Linked DNA regions of Homo sapiens: all the other regions are linked to region 1. Evidence: promoter capture Hi-C in human tissues and cell types (Jung and others, 2019). All regions are on one chromosome and are shown on one strand. Each heading gives the region's core, a stretch centred on a gene start or on the middle of the fragment in contact. The rest is flanking DNA. Distances are from core to core; before and after follow the strand shown. Region 1 holds the start of CUL9 (cullin 9). Region 2 has its middle 16 kb from the start of ZNF318. Region 3 overlaps CNPY3-GNMT (CNPY3-GNMT readthrough). Region 4 has its middle 9.6 kb from the start of RRP36. Region 5 has its middle 24 kb from the start of CRIP3. Region 6 has its middle 6.1 kb from the start of CRIP3.

Region 1 (2,700 bases), core at 184-2,683:
CCTAAGACTGCCTTCAGTAGGAACAAGCTGGCTTCTGTGATTAGGTGAAGGGATGGGGGAAGATTTTATGCACAGCCTAGTTATCAAGGGGATGATTTGCCGACATGTTTGAGAACCCCCTAACCTCTAACCCTCATTGCTGTCTTGCCCCAGTTTGGGGTGCCAAGATGGAAGTCACCTTTCTGGGCTTTCTCCTGGAGATAGCTGGGGCTTATGGGTGGCTTTCAAGGCTGGGGCATGGCAAATCAGGGGCCAGAGAGCAGGGGAGCTTGGGACTCAGGTCTGTAACTGCCCAGCCCCTTTTCTCTGCTCTTGTTTCACTCCACCATCACTCACTCACTCCCCACTCCCCCACCCATGGGGAGGAGACCTTTGATGAATTCTTCCTCTCCTTCCCACAAAAGACAGACCCAGTGAGTGAATCAGGCAAAGTGCTTATAATGTGTGTTGTGTGAGCGTGGCCTTGGGAGGACATGCGTGTGTCAGGGATGAGTTGAGGTGATATTTTTATGTGCAGCGACCCTTGGTGTTTCCCTTCCTCGGTGGCTCTGGGGTATGTGTGTGTGGGTGTGTGCGCCTGAGTGAGTGTGTGTGCTTGAATGTGAGTGTGTATGTCAGTGGTTTCTACTTCCCCTGGGATGCTGACCCAGGAATAGTGGACATGGTCACAGTCCTATGTACAGAGCTTTCTTTTGTATTAAAAAAAAATACTCTTTCAATAAATGTATCATTTTTGTGCACAGACTGTGGGGTCTTTGGTTCTGTTTTTCTACTTAGGGAGGGATGGGGGTATGAACGCGAGGCAAACTCCTAAAATTGCTGCTCTGAGTAGCGATCCGGGCTGCTTGATGAGAACGGTAATGCTAAGGTGTGCTTTGGGCTGTTTAATTCTATACGATTTAATTTAAGGAAAGTTTTGCGGGGCCGAGGACCTTCTCCCTGTGCGTGGCTTCGCTAGGTGTTAAGGCCAACGCAGAGGAGCAAATTTTAATTAACAGGAAAAGTGACACAACTAATCCAAAGCATTGCTGAAGGGTTTGGGAAACTCATGGGCACCTGACCTACTGAAAAGTCAAAAAGGGCAGCCTTAAGGTGGGAATGTGGGTTACCATGTTTCGTCAGCATGATCGCTGTGATGGGAGAGGGAGGATTAGGAGGGCCGACCCAGTGAAGAGGAGGGGGCTTCACAGTTGACTGGATGGAAACGGCTTCTTCCTGCTGCTGAGAGAGGAGCAACGTGACCTCGATCCCAGGCTCCTCCGGTAGCGCGCCCCCACGCCCCTCTTCCAGTGCAGCCGCCCGCGGTAGCACGCATGCTCCACTCGCGCGCTGTTCCGCCACGCTCGGCGTGGGCCGCGGTGGGACCCGTAGGTGCCCGGCCGTGCGTGCACTCGCCGTGTGACCCGGAAGGGAGCTCTGAGGAGGCGGGGCCAGGACGGCGGGACCGGCCGCTGGGTCCCAGCGAGGGCTGAGCCGGGCGGTGGGAGGTGAGAGGAGAGTTCTGCGCCGACCCAATCCCTCCCCTTCTCCTGTCCCCTCCCCGGTCCTTTAGCCACTGTCCATGGGGCTGACGAAGGGAACCAGGTCTTGCTCTCTGAGATTCACTGGATCTTTTCAGCTTTTTTGGACCGCGCCCCCAACCATCCTTCCCCCTCCCCCCAAACCCGTTCCCTCTGCGGTGCTGGCCTCCTCCACCTCCCCACGGCTCTGCAAGCTTGGGCTTGACCTTGCTATCTGCTGGTCTCATCCATGCGTCCAGAGCTCACCCCCACACCTCAGTTTATTGTTGCTCTTCTAGGCCGACGTTACACCTCCTACCTCCTCCTATCCGATTCTTTTACTTCCCCCTGCTGCTAATCAGTTGCCCGCTGGCACATCGCTGGCTACCATCCAGGCTTGCCCCCCATCCTAAGTGGACCCCTACCTCCATTGAGGTCCACATCCATCTTTCTCCCTCCTCTTCACCTCTACTCTCATCTTCTGTCCCTGTACCCCAACATGACCCCTGCCCTGACCACTATATCTTCATCTGGGTTTACCTTCTTCCATTCTTATTCTCACTATTCCCTGTTGCCCCTGCACTGCTTCATATCACGCATATCTTTCCTGATTATTCCACTCCCATTTATAATCGGTCTTAATAACTTTGCATTTATTTGATGACTCCCCTACCTTCTCCATCTAAGAATAATAACAGATTATGTTTACTGAACACTCTTTATGTGCTAGATGCTGTTCCAAGTGCTTTACATACATGATCCTACTAAATTCATGAAGTAACTATGAATATTACTACCATCTTGCAGAAGAGGAAACAAGCTCAGAGGTTAAGTAACTTGTTCCAAACTATGCAGACAGTGAGACAGAAAGCCAGAATTCAGAGTCACATTTATCTGATACTGAAGTCTCTGAATATTGCTTCTCTCCTGACCTCATTTCCTACCTTTAACCCCATGATTACCACCTCTATCTTATCTACTTAACTTACTTAAATCCTTACCATACATGCAGTATAAGGGCAGGGTGGGACCTGGTCATCTTTCCCATAATTTTATCTGGTCCCTAGGGCCCTCCCCCTTTCACAAGACTCGAATATACTTTTCCTATCCAGTCATTTGCCCCAACATCCCAGCCTTTTGTCATCTCCATTCTCTATATCTGCCATGGCCCACCCTTTACATCCACCTTGCAGCTTTACTC
Region 2 (2,700 bases), core at 180-2,679, 200 kb after region 1:
TGAGATTCTGGGTGTGGGGAGTGCTCTTACAAGCTCCACCTAAAGCTTCTTCCCCTACCCCTTACAAATATTGTGTAAGCCACACGTGATCCCTGGTAATAACGCCCTTCTCCCTTAAATTAAGTAGAGTGGTATCTGTGGTCTGCAACTGAATCATGACAGATACTGTCACATTTGGGAACCATTTTAAGAAGTTCTTCCACATTATACTTCTCCAACTTCATTTTAATATCACTTCTAACTCCCTAATCATCTAGCCAAACCATTAACCTCAGACTCTTTTTTTTTTTTTTTTTTTTTGAGATGGAGTCTCGCTCTGTCACCCAGGCCGGAGTGCAGTGGCGCGATCTCAGCTCCCTGCAAGCTCTGCCTCCCAGGTTCACGCAGCTGGAACTACAGGTGCGTGCCGCCATGCCTGGCTAATTTTTTTGGGGTTTTTTTTGTATTTTTTAGTAGAGACGGGGTTTCACCATGCTAGGCAGGATGATCTCGATCTCCTGACCTCGTGATCCACCTGCCTCGGCCTCCCAAAGTGCTGGGATTACAGGCATGAGCCACCGGGCCCGGCCAAATCAGTGTAGACTCTTAACCTGTTTCTCCTTCTGGGAAAACTGGTCAGGTAGTTGTATTTCTTGAAGTCCTGACTATCCTCAGTGTCCTTCAGGGTCACCCTTGATTGGGGGCCACAGTATCACAGCAGCCCATTTCTTTCTAATGCCAGCACATTAGGTGAAGACAGCTACAAACTAATCATGACTTTATTCCACTGCAGTCTGGTAACAAGGCCCATTTCATTGGTTATAGTGGTAGATGAAATAGCAATGCAGCAGAAGTAGTGGTGTGGGTGCTAGGAGCCATTTGTGTTTTCAGGATCTGCTGTGGCCTCATTTTGTGTATGTCATTTCTACTTGATAATGGATCCATGTCCTAGGTATGAACCAGCTTTATACCTAGGAAGACCAGATGATAGCCAGTTCATGATTATGCTGTGATCATGCTGGGTTCCATGATCATGCTGTGTCCGTGGCCCAGCAGCAAGCTGAGAGCTGATTCTCAAAGAGAGAATATTTACCTGCCAAAAGGCATGCTCAGAGGGCCTCTGCTATGATTATTCTATCAGGACATGCCATAGATGATAAAGTACCTCAGTCTGCCACAAACACTTTGAACATTATAAGGATCGCAAGGACTAAGTTGCACTGCAGACTGGACCAGCTGGAGAACCTTTTCTTCCTCTGAATCTCACTCAAGTATGGCTTCATTTCAAGTGACCAGATAAGGAGGTCAGAGCAGTAACCCAAATATGATCAATGTTGTCTCTAAATTCACCTAAGTGATGTGACTCTTTTGGTTTAGGGGTAGGTAGCACAAGTAAAGCAACTTGTCCTTCATTTTGAAGGGAGCACCTGTATGCAAGATCACTAAACATCAAGAAATATCAGTGAAGTGAAAAGCCTTTGTACTTGAACCTCCCTACCTTCCGGTATACATATATTTCCTAAAGCGTGTAAGATACTTGCTATTTTTTACTCCATATGCCCTATTAGTTTGATGTCATGAGTTCAGTGGGCCAGCATATCTTGTGAGATGGTAAGATGGGTCAGGATCCCTATGTGCTAACTTGTAGCAGAGTCAGAAAGTTCATGTAACCATGAGACAGTGTAGATTGATGTGTGTTATATCTGTTGTTTTCTGCTATTAAGCCAAAGAAAAATACTTCACTGGATTAATGTCTTCCTTTTCAATTGCATTTATTTGTTTATTTATTTATTTTACCTTCTTGCCTTCATCAATGTCTTGTTTGTATTTCGTACTTTTCTCTCTCTCTCTCTCTTTCTCTTTCTTTTCATTTTTTAAGAGATAGGGGCCGGGTGCAGTTGCTCATACCTGTAATCCCAGCACTTTGGGAGGCCGAGGCAGGTGGATCACCTGAGGTCAGGAGTTCAAGACCAGCCTGGCCAATATGGTGAAACCCCGTCTGTACTGAAAATACAAAAATTAGCTGGGTGTGGTGGCAGGCACCTGTAATCCCAGCATTTTGGGAGGCTGAGGCAGGAAAATTGCTTGAACCCAAGAGGTGGAGGTTGCAGTGAACTGAGATCAAACCACTGCACTCCAGCCTGGGTGACAGAGCAAGACTCTATCTCAGAAAAAAGAGAGAGAGAGAGAGAGAGAGAGATGGGGTATTCTGTGTTGCCCAGGCTGGTCTCAAACTCCTGGGCTCAAGTGATCCTCCCACCTCAGCCTCCCGAAATGCTGGGATTATGACTGTGAGCCACCATGTGTGGCATCCCTTTCTTTTCACTAACACTCTCTCAAAATAGATGTAACCATTCTTCTGACTTCTAATATCCTTGATCAGTTTTTCTGATTCTTGAACTTCATACACTGGCAGTGTATAAGCACTATACCTGCTCCAGATTCTTGCCAAATATTGGTATTGTCAGGTTTTCTTTTTAATGTAAGCCTTTCTAGTAGATGTAGTACTGTTCTGTGTTTTCTTAGATTCAATTCTGTATTTGTGTATTTGGTATCCATTAATCATAGGGCCAAACTGCCAGCCAAAGTTGTTTACATGTCCCCTGGATCCAGCTTTCACAAGCACACAAAAATCCTCCAACAAATCCTGACATAGAAAACTGTGTTTTCTTAGCAGATGTGATCGTATAGTTTTGTAACCTCATTACTATTATAAATGTA
Region 3 (2,700 bases), core at 185-2,684, 230 kb before region 1:
GTGGAGGCAGGGTAGCTTTTTGATGGCCAGGGGTGATGTCTTCACCTGGAACTGGCTGGAAGCTTTGTTGCATGATCAGCTGAAGCTTGATGGTCTCTAGGCAAGAGGAAATGAATTTGGTTAAAACATTTAATGGGAACTGCAGGGGGTGGATACCTATGCTGTTAGAAATGTTTGTTATATTGACCAGGCGCAGTGGCTTACGTCTGTAATCCCAGCACTTTGGGAGGCCGAGGCAGGCAGATCACGAGGTCAGGAGTTCAGGATCAGCCTGGCCAACATAGTGAAACCCTGTCTCTACTAAATACAAAAAAATTAGCCGGGCGGGGTGGTGCATGCCTGTAATCCTAGCTACTCAGGAGGCTGAGGCAGGAATGTTGCTTGAACCTGGGAGGTGGAGGTTGCAATAAGCTGAGATTGAGCCACTGCACTCCAGTCTGGGGGCGAGGGAGTGAGACTCCGTCTCAGAAAAAAAAAAAAAGAAAGGTTTGTCATAGAGATTTGCAGGAGAAAAAAAACTTGGTCTGTTTTAGAATCTATGTGTTTCCTTAAAGTCCTAGCATGAGCGACTCCATTTTGGTTTGGTTTGTTGAGGCCTAGTGCATGAGCCTAGTCCAAAACAATGGCCTTCCATAATTTTGTTTAAAAAATTACCCTTTTTGGTTAGGCTGTCATTTAAGTGAGAGTGTGACCAAACCTTAGGGACTTAGCGCCACTCTCAGTTACCATCATTTTGGGTTTCCTATCTCAGCACATCATTTATAGCTTATAGTGTCCTTATGGTTGCACATTTTTTTAGCTCCTGTTATTCCAGTTGAAGAGAGACCATTTGACATTCTAGAGATGGCTGCACGCAAGCATTTAAAACCTTTGAGAGAATAGAGCGCACCAGGGAGACTATTATTATGACTATCGGGAGGATGATACCAAGAGTTTGGAGTATGCTCCTTACCCAGGTTCCCCATAAACCAAACCACCTAAAATCACATAGATCAAAGAATGAACTAGATAAAGAGTTTACTCATGGCCGGGCGTGGTGGCTCATGTCTGTAATCCCAGCACTTTGGGAGGCCGAGATGGGCAGATCACCTGAGGTCGGGAGTTCAAGACCAGCCTGACCAACATGGTGAAACCCCGTCTCTACTAAAAACACAAAATTAGCCAGGCATGGTGGTGCATGCCTGTAGTCCCAGCTACTCGGGAGGCTGAGGCAGGAGAATCGCTTGAACCCGGGAGGCAGAGGTTGCGGTGAGCCGAGATCGTGCCATTGCACTCCAGCCTGGGCAACAAGAGCAAAACTCCGTCTCAAAAAAAAAAAAAAGTTTACTCATTTGACTAAGCAGTCTCTTTGTTAATCCCCTACCACTATATTTCTATAATCTTCATGTGATGTATTTCTCCGTAGGCCACAAGTGCCAGCAGCTGCACAGATACTTCTCTGTTTAGCCAATTCTATCTTAACTTTCACAAGAGAATTTAAAGTCTATTGTATAACTGTAGCCTTTACAGTAGAATTTGCTATAGAACCCATCATGAGGGATACTTTTTTTTTTTTGAGACGAAGTTTCGCTTTTGTTGCCCAGGCTAGAGTGCAATGGCACCATCTTGGCTCACTGCAACCTCTGCCTCCCGGGTTCAAGCGATTCTCATGCCTCAGCCTCCCGAGTAGCTGGGATTACAGGTGCACCACCATGCCCAGCTAATTTTTATGTATATATATATATATATTTTTTTAGTAGAGATGGGGTTTCACCACATTGGCTAGACTGGTCTCAACCTCCTGACTTCAGGTGATCCACCTGCCTCGGCCTCCCAAAGTGCTGGGATTACAGGCATAAGCCACCGTGCCTGGCCCCATTAAAGTTTTTTACCTGCACTGGGCCTTCATTTTTTATCTATTAAAGTATAAAGTTATCCATATATAAGGTTGGCTGCAAACTCCTTCACAAATAAAAGTACATCCCATTAGTGCACATAACAGATGCCTTTTCCACTTTTATTGTTCATAGAGGCATAAGCAAGAACAAATATTGAAAGATAAGAGTTTTATGACAGTAGAAGTCTTAATCTGTGAATTTGGGAAAAGCTTATTTACATCAAAGATGCCATCCTCGGTCAGGCGCAGTGGCTCACGCCTGTGATCCCAGCACTTTGGGAGGCTGAGGCGGGCGGATCACCTGAGATCAGGAGTTAGAAAGCAGCTTGTCCAACATGGTGAAACCCCGTCTCTACTAAAAATATAAAAATTAGCCTGATGTGGTGGCGAGCACCTGTATACTTGGGAGGCTGAGGTAGGAGAATCGCTATTATAAAAAGTAGAGGTTCCTCTTCAAAGACTTTCCTCCCCATCTAATTAGGGATAAATAGTAACTTCTCTTAGAAGCAAAATTTATTCAAAGATCTGTGGTGACATTCTTAAATATCTGCAAGTCATAATAAAGAAATCAATGTCCTTTATGTTCTTAGCTCCCACAATGTAGCCTAAATATTTGCCCTGGCATGCTTATACTGGTCCAAACAAACATTAGGTCATAGCCTGTTCCTCATCCTTATTTGAAGGTGTTTTTACCTTTCTCAGCATTCCACAAGTTACTTCCCCTTCCTTTGTTCTCCTCTGCCTTTGCCTCTTTTAAAAGTTCTAAGTTGCTAGCCAATCGGGACAAATACAAAATGTGAAGTCCCATTCCAGCCAATGGAAAC
Region 4 (2,700 bases), core at 135-2,634, 150 kb before region 1:
ACAGGCGTTGAGCCACCGTTCCGGCCTTAAGGCCTCTGCTTTTATGTGGGATTTGTGGGTAGCCTAGAACTACTTTTTAGTGGGCCACATATTGGGATAGGCAATAAAGCCTAAGGCATCTACAACTGGGAAGTCAGATCAGAAACCCCTCCCACTTAAATCTGGGCCCCTCAAGGATGACAAGATCATTTAGTGGGTGAACCAATCCCACAACTCCCCTACTTGGCTTTGGTTTTGGATGCAAGGGATGTTAAGAGGTAGGGATATAAAGCTTCCATGGTAATATACAAGCACAGCTGGCCTTCAGTACTGTTTGGGACAAGAGTTTATAACCCATGTGGTCTGGAAAATCCTCAGGCTGATAACTTAGTTTAAAATAGTCTCAAGTAGGCTGGGCGTGGTGGCTCACACCTGTAATCCCACCACTTTGGGAGGCCGAGGCAGGCGGATCACCTGAGGTCAGGAGTTCAAGACCAGCCTGGCCAACATGGTGAAACCCCATCTCTACTAAAAATACAAAATTAGCTGGGTGTGGTGGTGGGTGCCTGTAATCCCAGCTACTCAGGAGGCTGAGGTAGGATAATCACTTGAGCCTGGGAGGTAGAGGTTGCAGTGAGCCAAGATCGCACCACTGCACTCCAGCCTGGGCAAAAAGAGTGAAATCACCACCGCGCCCCCCCCCCCAAAAAAAAATGGCCAGGCATGGTGGCTCACACCTGTAATCCCAGCACTTTGGGAGGCAGAGGCAGGTGGATCACGAGGTCAGGGGTTCGAGACCAGCCTGACCAACATGGTGAAACCCTGTCTCTACTAAAAATACAAAAATTAGCCGGGTGTGGTGGTGGGCGCCTGTAATCCCAGCTACTCAGGAGGCTGAAGCAGGAGAATTGCTTGAACGCGGGAGGCGGAGGTTGCAGTGAACCAAGATCGCGCCACTGCACTCCAGCCTGGGCGACAGAGCGAGACTCCGTCTCAAAAAAAAAAAAAGTCTCAAGTAGATAGTGTCTCCAGGGTCCTGGCAGAAGCAAATGTAATCCTTTCTTGAGGATTGTTTTTTTTTTGTTTGTTTTTTGTTTTTGAGATGGAGTCTCACTCTGTCGTCCAGACTGGCAAAAATTAAAATGTGAGAAGTATAAAATAAAAAATACAAAATGTCTTATGTTTAAAGAAAAAGTGTGACAAATGAATATCAAAAGGTACTAAACTGGTGTGATTAAAAAGTAAAACTTAAGGCCGGTCACGGTGGCTCACGCCTGTGTTCCCAGCACTTTGGGAGGCCAAAGCGGGTGGATCACGAGGTCAGGAGATGGAGACCATCCTGGCTAGTACAGTGAAACCCTATCTCTACTAAAAATACAAAAAATTAGCCAGGCGTGGTGGCGGGTGCCTGTAGTCCCAGCTACTCTGGAGGCTGAGGCAGGAGGATGGCATGAACCTGGGAGGCAGAGCTTGCAGTGAGCCGAGATCGTGCCACTGCACTCCAGCCTGGGGAACAGAGCGAGACTCCATCTCAAAAAAAAAAAAAAAAAAAGTAAAACTTAAAAAGAAAACCTTTTAAAAATGAAAAGTAGGGCCAGGCATGGTGGCTCGTGCCTGTAATCCCAGCACTTTGGGAGGCTGAGGTGGGTGGATCGCCTGAGGTTGGGAGTTCGAGACTAGCCTGGCCAACATGGTGAAACCCCGTCTCTACTAAAAATACAAAAAATTAGCCGGGCGTGGTGGCGCATGCCTGTAATCCTAGCTACTTGGGAGGCTGAGGCAGGAGAATTGCTTGAACCTAGGAGGCGGAGGTTGCGGTGAGCCAAGATTGCGCCACTGCACTCCAGCCTGGGCAACAAGAGTGATACTCCACCTCAGAAAAAAAAAAGTACACTACGAGAAGTTAGAAACTTTATGGTTAAGCAGCAGATTAGACTTCTCCCTAAAGGGAGAATGAACTGGAAATAGATCTGAAGTTACACAGAGAGAGCACTGACATACAGAGAAGTGGAAACTAAGGAAAAGAGGTTAAAAAACATGGAAGAGGCTGGGTGTAGTTGCTGACACCTGTAATCCCAACTTTTTGGGAGGCATAGAGAGGACTGCTTGAGGTCCTCAGTTGGGGACCAGCCTGGGCAACATAAGGAGACCTTGTCTCTAAAAAAAAATTAAAAAATCAGACATGTGGCACATGCCTATAGTCCCAGCTTCTCTGGAGGCTCAGGCTGGAGGATTGCTTGACCCCAGGAACTTGAGGTTGCAGTGAGCTATGATGGCATCACTGCACTCCAGCCTGGGTGACAGAGCAAGATCCTGTCTATAAAACAACAAAATGAAGATAAATGTGAGACTTGACAATCAAAATTTCAGGAAAGAATATTTCAAAGAGGCTGGGCATTTTCTAGAATTTTTTTTGAGATGGGGTCTCCCTCTGTCGCCCAAGCTGGAGTGCAGTGGCACGATCTTGGCTCACTGTAACCTCTTCCTCCCAGGTTAAAGCTATTCTTCTGCCTCAGCTCCCTGAGCAGCTGGTATTTCAGGTGTATGCCACCACACCTGGCTAATTTTTTTTTTTGTAGGGATGGGGTTTCACCGTGTTGGCCAGCTGGTCTCAAACTCCTGACCTCAAGTAATCCACCCACCTAGGCCTCCCAAAGTGATAGGTTTACAGGTGTGAGCCACCGCACCTGGCCTAGTTTTTTTTTTGTTTTTTTTGTTTTT
Region 5 (2,700 bases), core at 85-2,584, 150 kb after region 1:
AGAATATGAAGACCTGAACTCTACAGCTTTAATGTAAGTATCATGGCACAAAATGAGATATGGGACTTCAGGAATAATTTATTCAATGCTAAATAAGGTGAGGAGTGGCAAGTCTAAAATACATACCCTCTATGTACATTCTAATCTTGTTCATCCTCTACAGGTACAACAATATACACATTCACTCACCCAACTCACCATTTCCTGGCAGCTAAAATGACAGGATCTTCTCTACAACTTATCCCCACCCCCATCAGTCATACCCACCTTCTGGAAGTCAGATCCTTCAGGTGATTGCCTACTGGCCACAAGGGCACCCATCATTTCCGTGGCCTCTGTGGTTTCTATCCCTGCCTTTCTGGGGGCAGAAATGTCTGCTGCAGTCCTTCCTTTTGGAAATCTGAAGACTTTTGGAATTGCCCCTGAAAAGAAAGGAAGATAAGTGGGTGAGAGTCTGTAACAATGTGACCATAGTCATCCTTAGGAAGGTGGTTACAGGAAGGCTGGGTGGAAACTTAGCAGGGACAGAGTGTCAGAGAGACGAAATAAAATAATATCTTAATATGGCTGATTTTATCTCTGCTTTCTCCACATCCTCTACCTTTTGTTCTCCCGTTATGTAACTCTGCCTCTGTTTTCACCCTGTTCGTTCACTTCCCTTAAACATACTCATTTCCCTTATTTTCTACAAAACTTCTTTCTTGCCTAATCCTCCACAAATGGAACCAAAGCCTGTAAATCTTTAAATCATTACATCTAGATGTTATCTTCTGTCCTTTTGCATGCGACAGACTTTTTTTATCTTTTGTGTACCTGTATTACTTTGTGAAACAGGTATCTTGATTTATATCATTTAATGTCCAAGTGCTTGTACAACATTAATGAATATGAACAACCAGTTCAACAGAGGTTGGGGAAAGAATGGGAAGAGGAAGAGAGGAAGAAGGAAAGAATGGTAAGACATTCCTGAAGAAGGTATGTTGCCCAGCATCGATGGGAATAGAAGAATTTAGGAAGTCTTGAGGGAAAAGCAGCAGGACCTATTTGTAATGATGGAAAACAGACAAGAGGTGTGAAGGAAAACAGGGATGCACTGAGTAGGAGAGACACAACTTAAAAAAAATAATTTTAATACAGAAAAGTATACAGAGGGGTAAAAAAAAAACTGGCCTATAATTCCACAGCACTGGATAACCCTTACTACATGTTATCATTTTATACATGTATGTGTGTGCATGTGTATAGTTTATAAAACATTTATATTTTATAGAAAATGCATTTTCATGGTCACAATGTTGAAACAAAACAGAAGATACAAAATAAAAAGTGATAGCATTCCTTTTCCCTCTCCCAAAGGCAACCTTTTTTGGTTACGATTTAGTTTTGATGAGATGACAAGAGGATGCTGGAGACCATAAACTGTTGAATTACTTCTTCAACCAAATCAGAGGGGTTTGGGGTTTGACTGACTTCAGCATGCTTATGAAGTCTGGCTGGAAGGAAAAAGGAGGCCATTTGAAAACTGGATCCCCAAAACCTTTTGTTTTTGCTAACTGTAAGGTCAGTTTAACTCCTTCTCATCCTCAGTTTCTCTTCTAGGAGCTGCAGAAGCAGTGTTCCCATCATGGCCTGGTGCCATTATTCCAGAATGCTGTTGAAGTGAGGGAACCAATGGCAACCTTGACATGCCTCAATGATACAGTGCTTTGTATACAAAGACCCAGGACAGAAGCAAGAGGACAGCTGGCTTCTAGAGTGCTAAACACCCAGAAAATACAATAGGCAATTTACAGTTTTTACTGACTTATAATTTGCTAAGTATTCACAATTTGTTAATAAAAACAGCTACTATTACCACATTGATTCTTTCAATGAATTTTTATTGAGTACCTGCTATATGCCAGACAACTGTGCACTGTGAATACAATGATTAAAAAAATAGTAAGCAAAGACAGACTTCTTGCTTTGGGGAGTTTATCATGTACTTAAGGGGAGCATATATTAATCAAAGAAACATAAATGTAAAATTACAACCACATTAAATGCTACAACATAAACATACATGTTTTATATGTATTCTTCTGGAAGTGTATATGGGTTGAGGGCAAATCAGGAGAGTTGTGATTTTAAGAGTAGAAGATTTTCATTATAAATTCAACTTCGTGGCTTATCGATGAATATTGTATACACAACTTAGTTAAAAATTACATAAAAATTACTGCAATTTTAAACTCTAAAGAGATGTGCTCACAAAACTATTTGTCCATGTTCTCACATAAATCGTTAATAAATGAAGACTTTGTTTAGGTTCTTATCCTAGATTTAGTATGTAAGCTTTGTTAAGGTGAGAACCAAGGTTTAGGGATATATATTAATATATCAACAAAGCTTGCCTATATATGTTTATATATATATTATCTATATTATATATATAAAAGAAACTATACTATATATAGTATATATAAAACTATATACATATATACATATATATATATGTAAAAGAAACTACCTCACTTATTTCTGTTACAGGCTACATCCTCTCTGAACCCTCCTCCAATTTTTAAAATTACACTTTATGTTCCTATTGGATGCATGTGTCCTGTATGTCCACCTCCCCACCCCATTCTTCCTCAGTCCTGGAATCTGGCAGACTGATAAATTGACTATGTGCTGGCATGCTCTGCTACCAAAATACTAACT
Region 6 (2,700 bases), core at 162-2,661, 130 kb after region 1:
TTGCAATCAGTCAGTGGCGCAAATGCTTTACTGCTCCCCACATCTTGTAGGGCCTTTATTGTATGGCCTAATCTCACAATATGCTTCGGCTCTTCTATTTCAGTGCTTAGGAAAGACTAGTTGAGGCTCCACCCTTCCAAACACTTGCACTATGCATTTGCAGGTACAGCAAATTACAGTAGTCCACTTTTCTTCTTTGCCTGGTTTCCATTATTGACTCGAACAGAAGCTATGTAAAGAATAACTGGGAAAACACATTTCTTGTAGGAATGCATTTGAGTTACTGACAGTGGATGTTTTGAAGAACAGTTGGTGTGACTAAAGTCTCTAAAATGATATTTTAATAAATACTACAGATGGGTAAGTCCACCTCAAAGAAGGTATTACTCAATTGTTAAGGTGCAGTTTGTGTCATCTCCCATTAGAGGCAGGCCTCTTTCTCACAAAGACCACTGTTCCCTTAGTGCCCGCCCTGCCTTTTTCCTGCACAGACCTCTGTTACAGTATCTGTAACATTGTATGACACTTGTTTACTTGTTTGACTTTGACAGAACTGATGGAGAATTATCTGTGTATCTTTAACAGTGAGTGCAGTATAGGTAATCAGTAAATGATAGCTATTATTATTAAACTCTCCCACTAACTTTACTTCATGTTTTTAAGCTCTATTATTAGGTACATAAATGTTTCAGGATTGTGTTTGCTCGAGGAATTAACCGTTTGATTAGTGTTGTTAGAAAAGCTGAAGAAACAAGCTTTTCCATTCTAGGTGAGTAAGTGGTCCCGTAGAGATAGTGACTTCTAGTCCCTGGAGGGCTGTCACATGGAAAAGGCATTAGGGGTACTACCAAGACCCCTGGAGAGAGAACACAGGGAAGCAGATTTGGATTAGGTCCCCTCCAAAACCCTTTTAATAGAGCCCCAATATAGAGTGGCTGCTTCAGACAGTGGTGAGCTTCCTGTTTCTGGACACAATACTGGACAATAAACCAACTGATCCTCAGTGTTGCAGAAGGTATCCAAATATCATATGCAGATAGAACTTTAAAGCCTCTTCATGATTTAACAATTATGATTCTGTGATTCCTTTCCCAAAAAGGAGCTTGAAACTTGTGTTAGAAAGAGGGCATTACTAGAGCTGATGAAGGGTAGAAATGTTACATTCCCAATTGTATAAAAAAGAAAGTGGCTTGGTAAGGTTACGAAATTAGTAAAACATTTGGCCAGGTGCGGTGGCTCATGCCTGTAATCCCAGCACTTTGGGAGGCCGAAGTGGGAGGATCACCTGAGGTTAGGAGTTCGAGACCAGACTGTCCACCATGGTGAAACCCCGTCTCTACTTAAAATACAAAAAACTTAGCTGGGCGTGGTGGCAGGTGCCTGTAATCCCAGCTACTCAGGAGGCTGAGGCATGAGAATTGCTTGAACCTGGGAGGTGGAGGTTGCAGTGAGCCGAGATCGCACCACTGCAGTCCAGCCTGGACGACAGAGCAAGACTCAGTCTCAAAGAAAAAGAAAAAAAGAAATGTGTAAAACATCATACAGACCCAAGCATTCTGACTCTTGAGCCCATACTCTTTCCACTCTATACCCCCCTAAGCATGGTTTTTGCCCATGTGTTTCAACCTGAAAAGACACTACACTTGTCTGCACAGCACCTCCATACCTGAAGATAAGAGGGCCTATCCAGGAAAATAATGGGTTGAGATGCAAGGGGCAGGGAAATGTCATTAAAACCTTTCCATGATTTCTCAGTATCCTCAAGACAGGACCCTCCACTTTTCCAGTCTTCTAGCCATTTCTCCTGTTGCATCGACCCCTCCATCCACATCAAATGAGCTTCTTGAATCTGTTAAGTTCTATTCTGCCTCAGGGCTTTTGCAAAGGCCATCTTTTCTGAGAATTCACTTCCCCAGTATCTTCACCTCATCAATTCCTACCTAACCTCAGCTCCCCCTCAACTACTCCACACCAGGTTATTGACCCCAAGCACTGTTTCTATACCACCATCCTCTCCTGGAGGGTAGAGGGGGCCCAAACTATGACAGCTGTGTTTTCCCTGAGTGCTGAACCAAATAAGAAATAAAAGACAAACAGAGATCCTTTATTATTATTATTATTACTATTTTGAGACAGTCTCATTCTGTTGCCCAGGCTGGAGTGCAGTGGCATGATCTCAGCTCACTGCAATCTCTGCCTCCCAGGTTCAAGTAATTCTCCTGCCCCAGCCTCCCTAGTAGCTGGGATTACAGGAGTGTGCCACCATGCCCGGCTAATTTTTGTATTTTTAGTAGAGACAAGGTTTCACCATGTTGGCCAGGCTGGTCTTGGACTTTTGACTTCAAGTGATCCACTCACCTTGGCCTCTCAAAGTGCTGGGATTACAGACATGAGCCACCACCCAGCCCATCATCTTTATTATTGATAAAGGACAGGTTGTAGTTTAGAAAGTGAAATAAATATGGTAACTTCCTGCCTACCTCCTCCACTCCAATCTGGGCTTTGTCTGCCCCCTTAGTCTGTGAGATCCATGAGAGCAGGGACCAGGCTGCTTTGCCAACCATTGCATATATTTCCAGTGCCTTGCTCAAATCTCTGGCACATAGTGCTCAACAAATACTTGCTGGTGAATGAATGTTACATGTTATATACAAGTCCCCCTGAGTGTGATAGATGAGTGCTAGTGAGAGATGTGGGAAT

Evidence for each region. Contacts are between HindIII fragments. The study calls those that stand out against the background at their distance.
Region 2: a fragment that was not itself captured here is called in contact with the fragment with the promoter of CUL9 in region 1 in 1 of the 25 tissues and cell types used here (spleen).
Region 3: a fragment that was not itself captured here is called in contact with the fragment with the promoter of CUL9 in region 1 in 4 of the 25 tissues and cell types used here (dorsolateral prefrontal cortex, mesenchymal stem cells, mesendoderm cells and 1 more).
Region 4: a contact is called between a fragment that was not itself captured here and the fragment with the promoter of CUL9 in region 1, in 5 of the 25 tissues and cell types used here (aorta, dorsolateral prefrontal cortex, lymphoblastoid cells and 2 more).
Region 5: a contact is called between a fragment that was not itself captured here and the fragment with the promoter of CUL9 in region 1, in 1 of the 25 tissues and cell types used here (H1 embryonic stem cells).
Region 6: a fragment that was not itself captured here is called in contact with the fragment with the promoter of CUL9 in region 1 in 5 of the 25 tissues and cell types used here (H1 embryonic stem cells, IMR-90 fibroblasts, lymphoblastoid cells and 2 more).

What each region holds. Positions count from the first base shown.
Region 1 is chr6:43,180,763-43,183,462 of GRCh38, forward strand. CUL9 (cullin 9) reads left to right here and starts at 1,434. Exons shown (of 41, transcript NM_015089.4): 1 at 1,434-1,487. SRF (serum response factor) reads left to right here. Exons shown (of 7, transcript NM_003131.4): 7 at 1-744. RefSeq lists an enhancer at 1,105-1,174 and silencers at 1,425-1,564, 1,585-1,634. The HindIII fragment of the contact is 4,480 bases long and covers 1-2,700 here.
Region 2 is chr6:43,383,967-43,386,666 of GRCh38, forward strand. No RefSeq gene overlaps it. Among named protein-coding and RNA genes, the nearest start is that of ZNF318, 16 kb to the left of the region's middle. The HindIII fragment of the contact is 5,313 bases long and covers 1-2,700 here.
Region 3 is chr6:42,952,026-42,954,725 of GRCh38, forward strand. All of the region lies in intron 1 of CNPY3-GNMT (CNPY3-GNMT readthrough), which reads left to right. Among named protein-coding and RNA genes, the nearest start is that of GNMT, 7.4 kb to the right of the region's middle. The HindIII fragment of the contact is 5,528 bases long and covers 1-2,700 here.
Region 4 is chr6:43,029,894-43,032,593 of GRCh38, forward strand. No RefSeq gene overlaps it. Among named protein-coding and RNA genes, the nearest start is that of RRP36, 9.6 kb to the left of the region's middle. The HindIII fragment of the contact is 7,304 bases long and covers 1-2,700 here.
Region 5 is chr6:43,331,431-43,334,130 of GRCh38, forward strand. No RefSeq gene overlaps it. Among named protein-coding and RNA genes, the nearest start is that of CRIP3, 24 kb to the left of the region's middle. The HindIII fragment of the contact is 3,101 bases long and covers 1-2,700 here.
Region 6 is chr6:43,313,571-43,316,270 of GRCh38, forward strand. No RefSeq gene overlaps it. Among named protein-coding and RNA genes, the nearest start is that of CRIP3, 6.1 kb to the left of the region's middle. The HindIII fragment of the contact is 4,386 bases long and covers 1-2,700 here.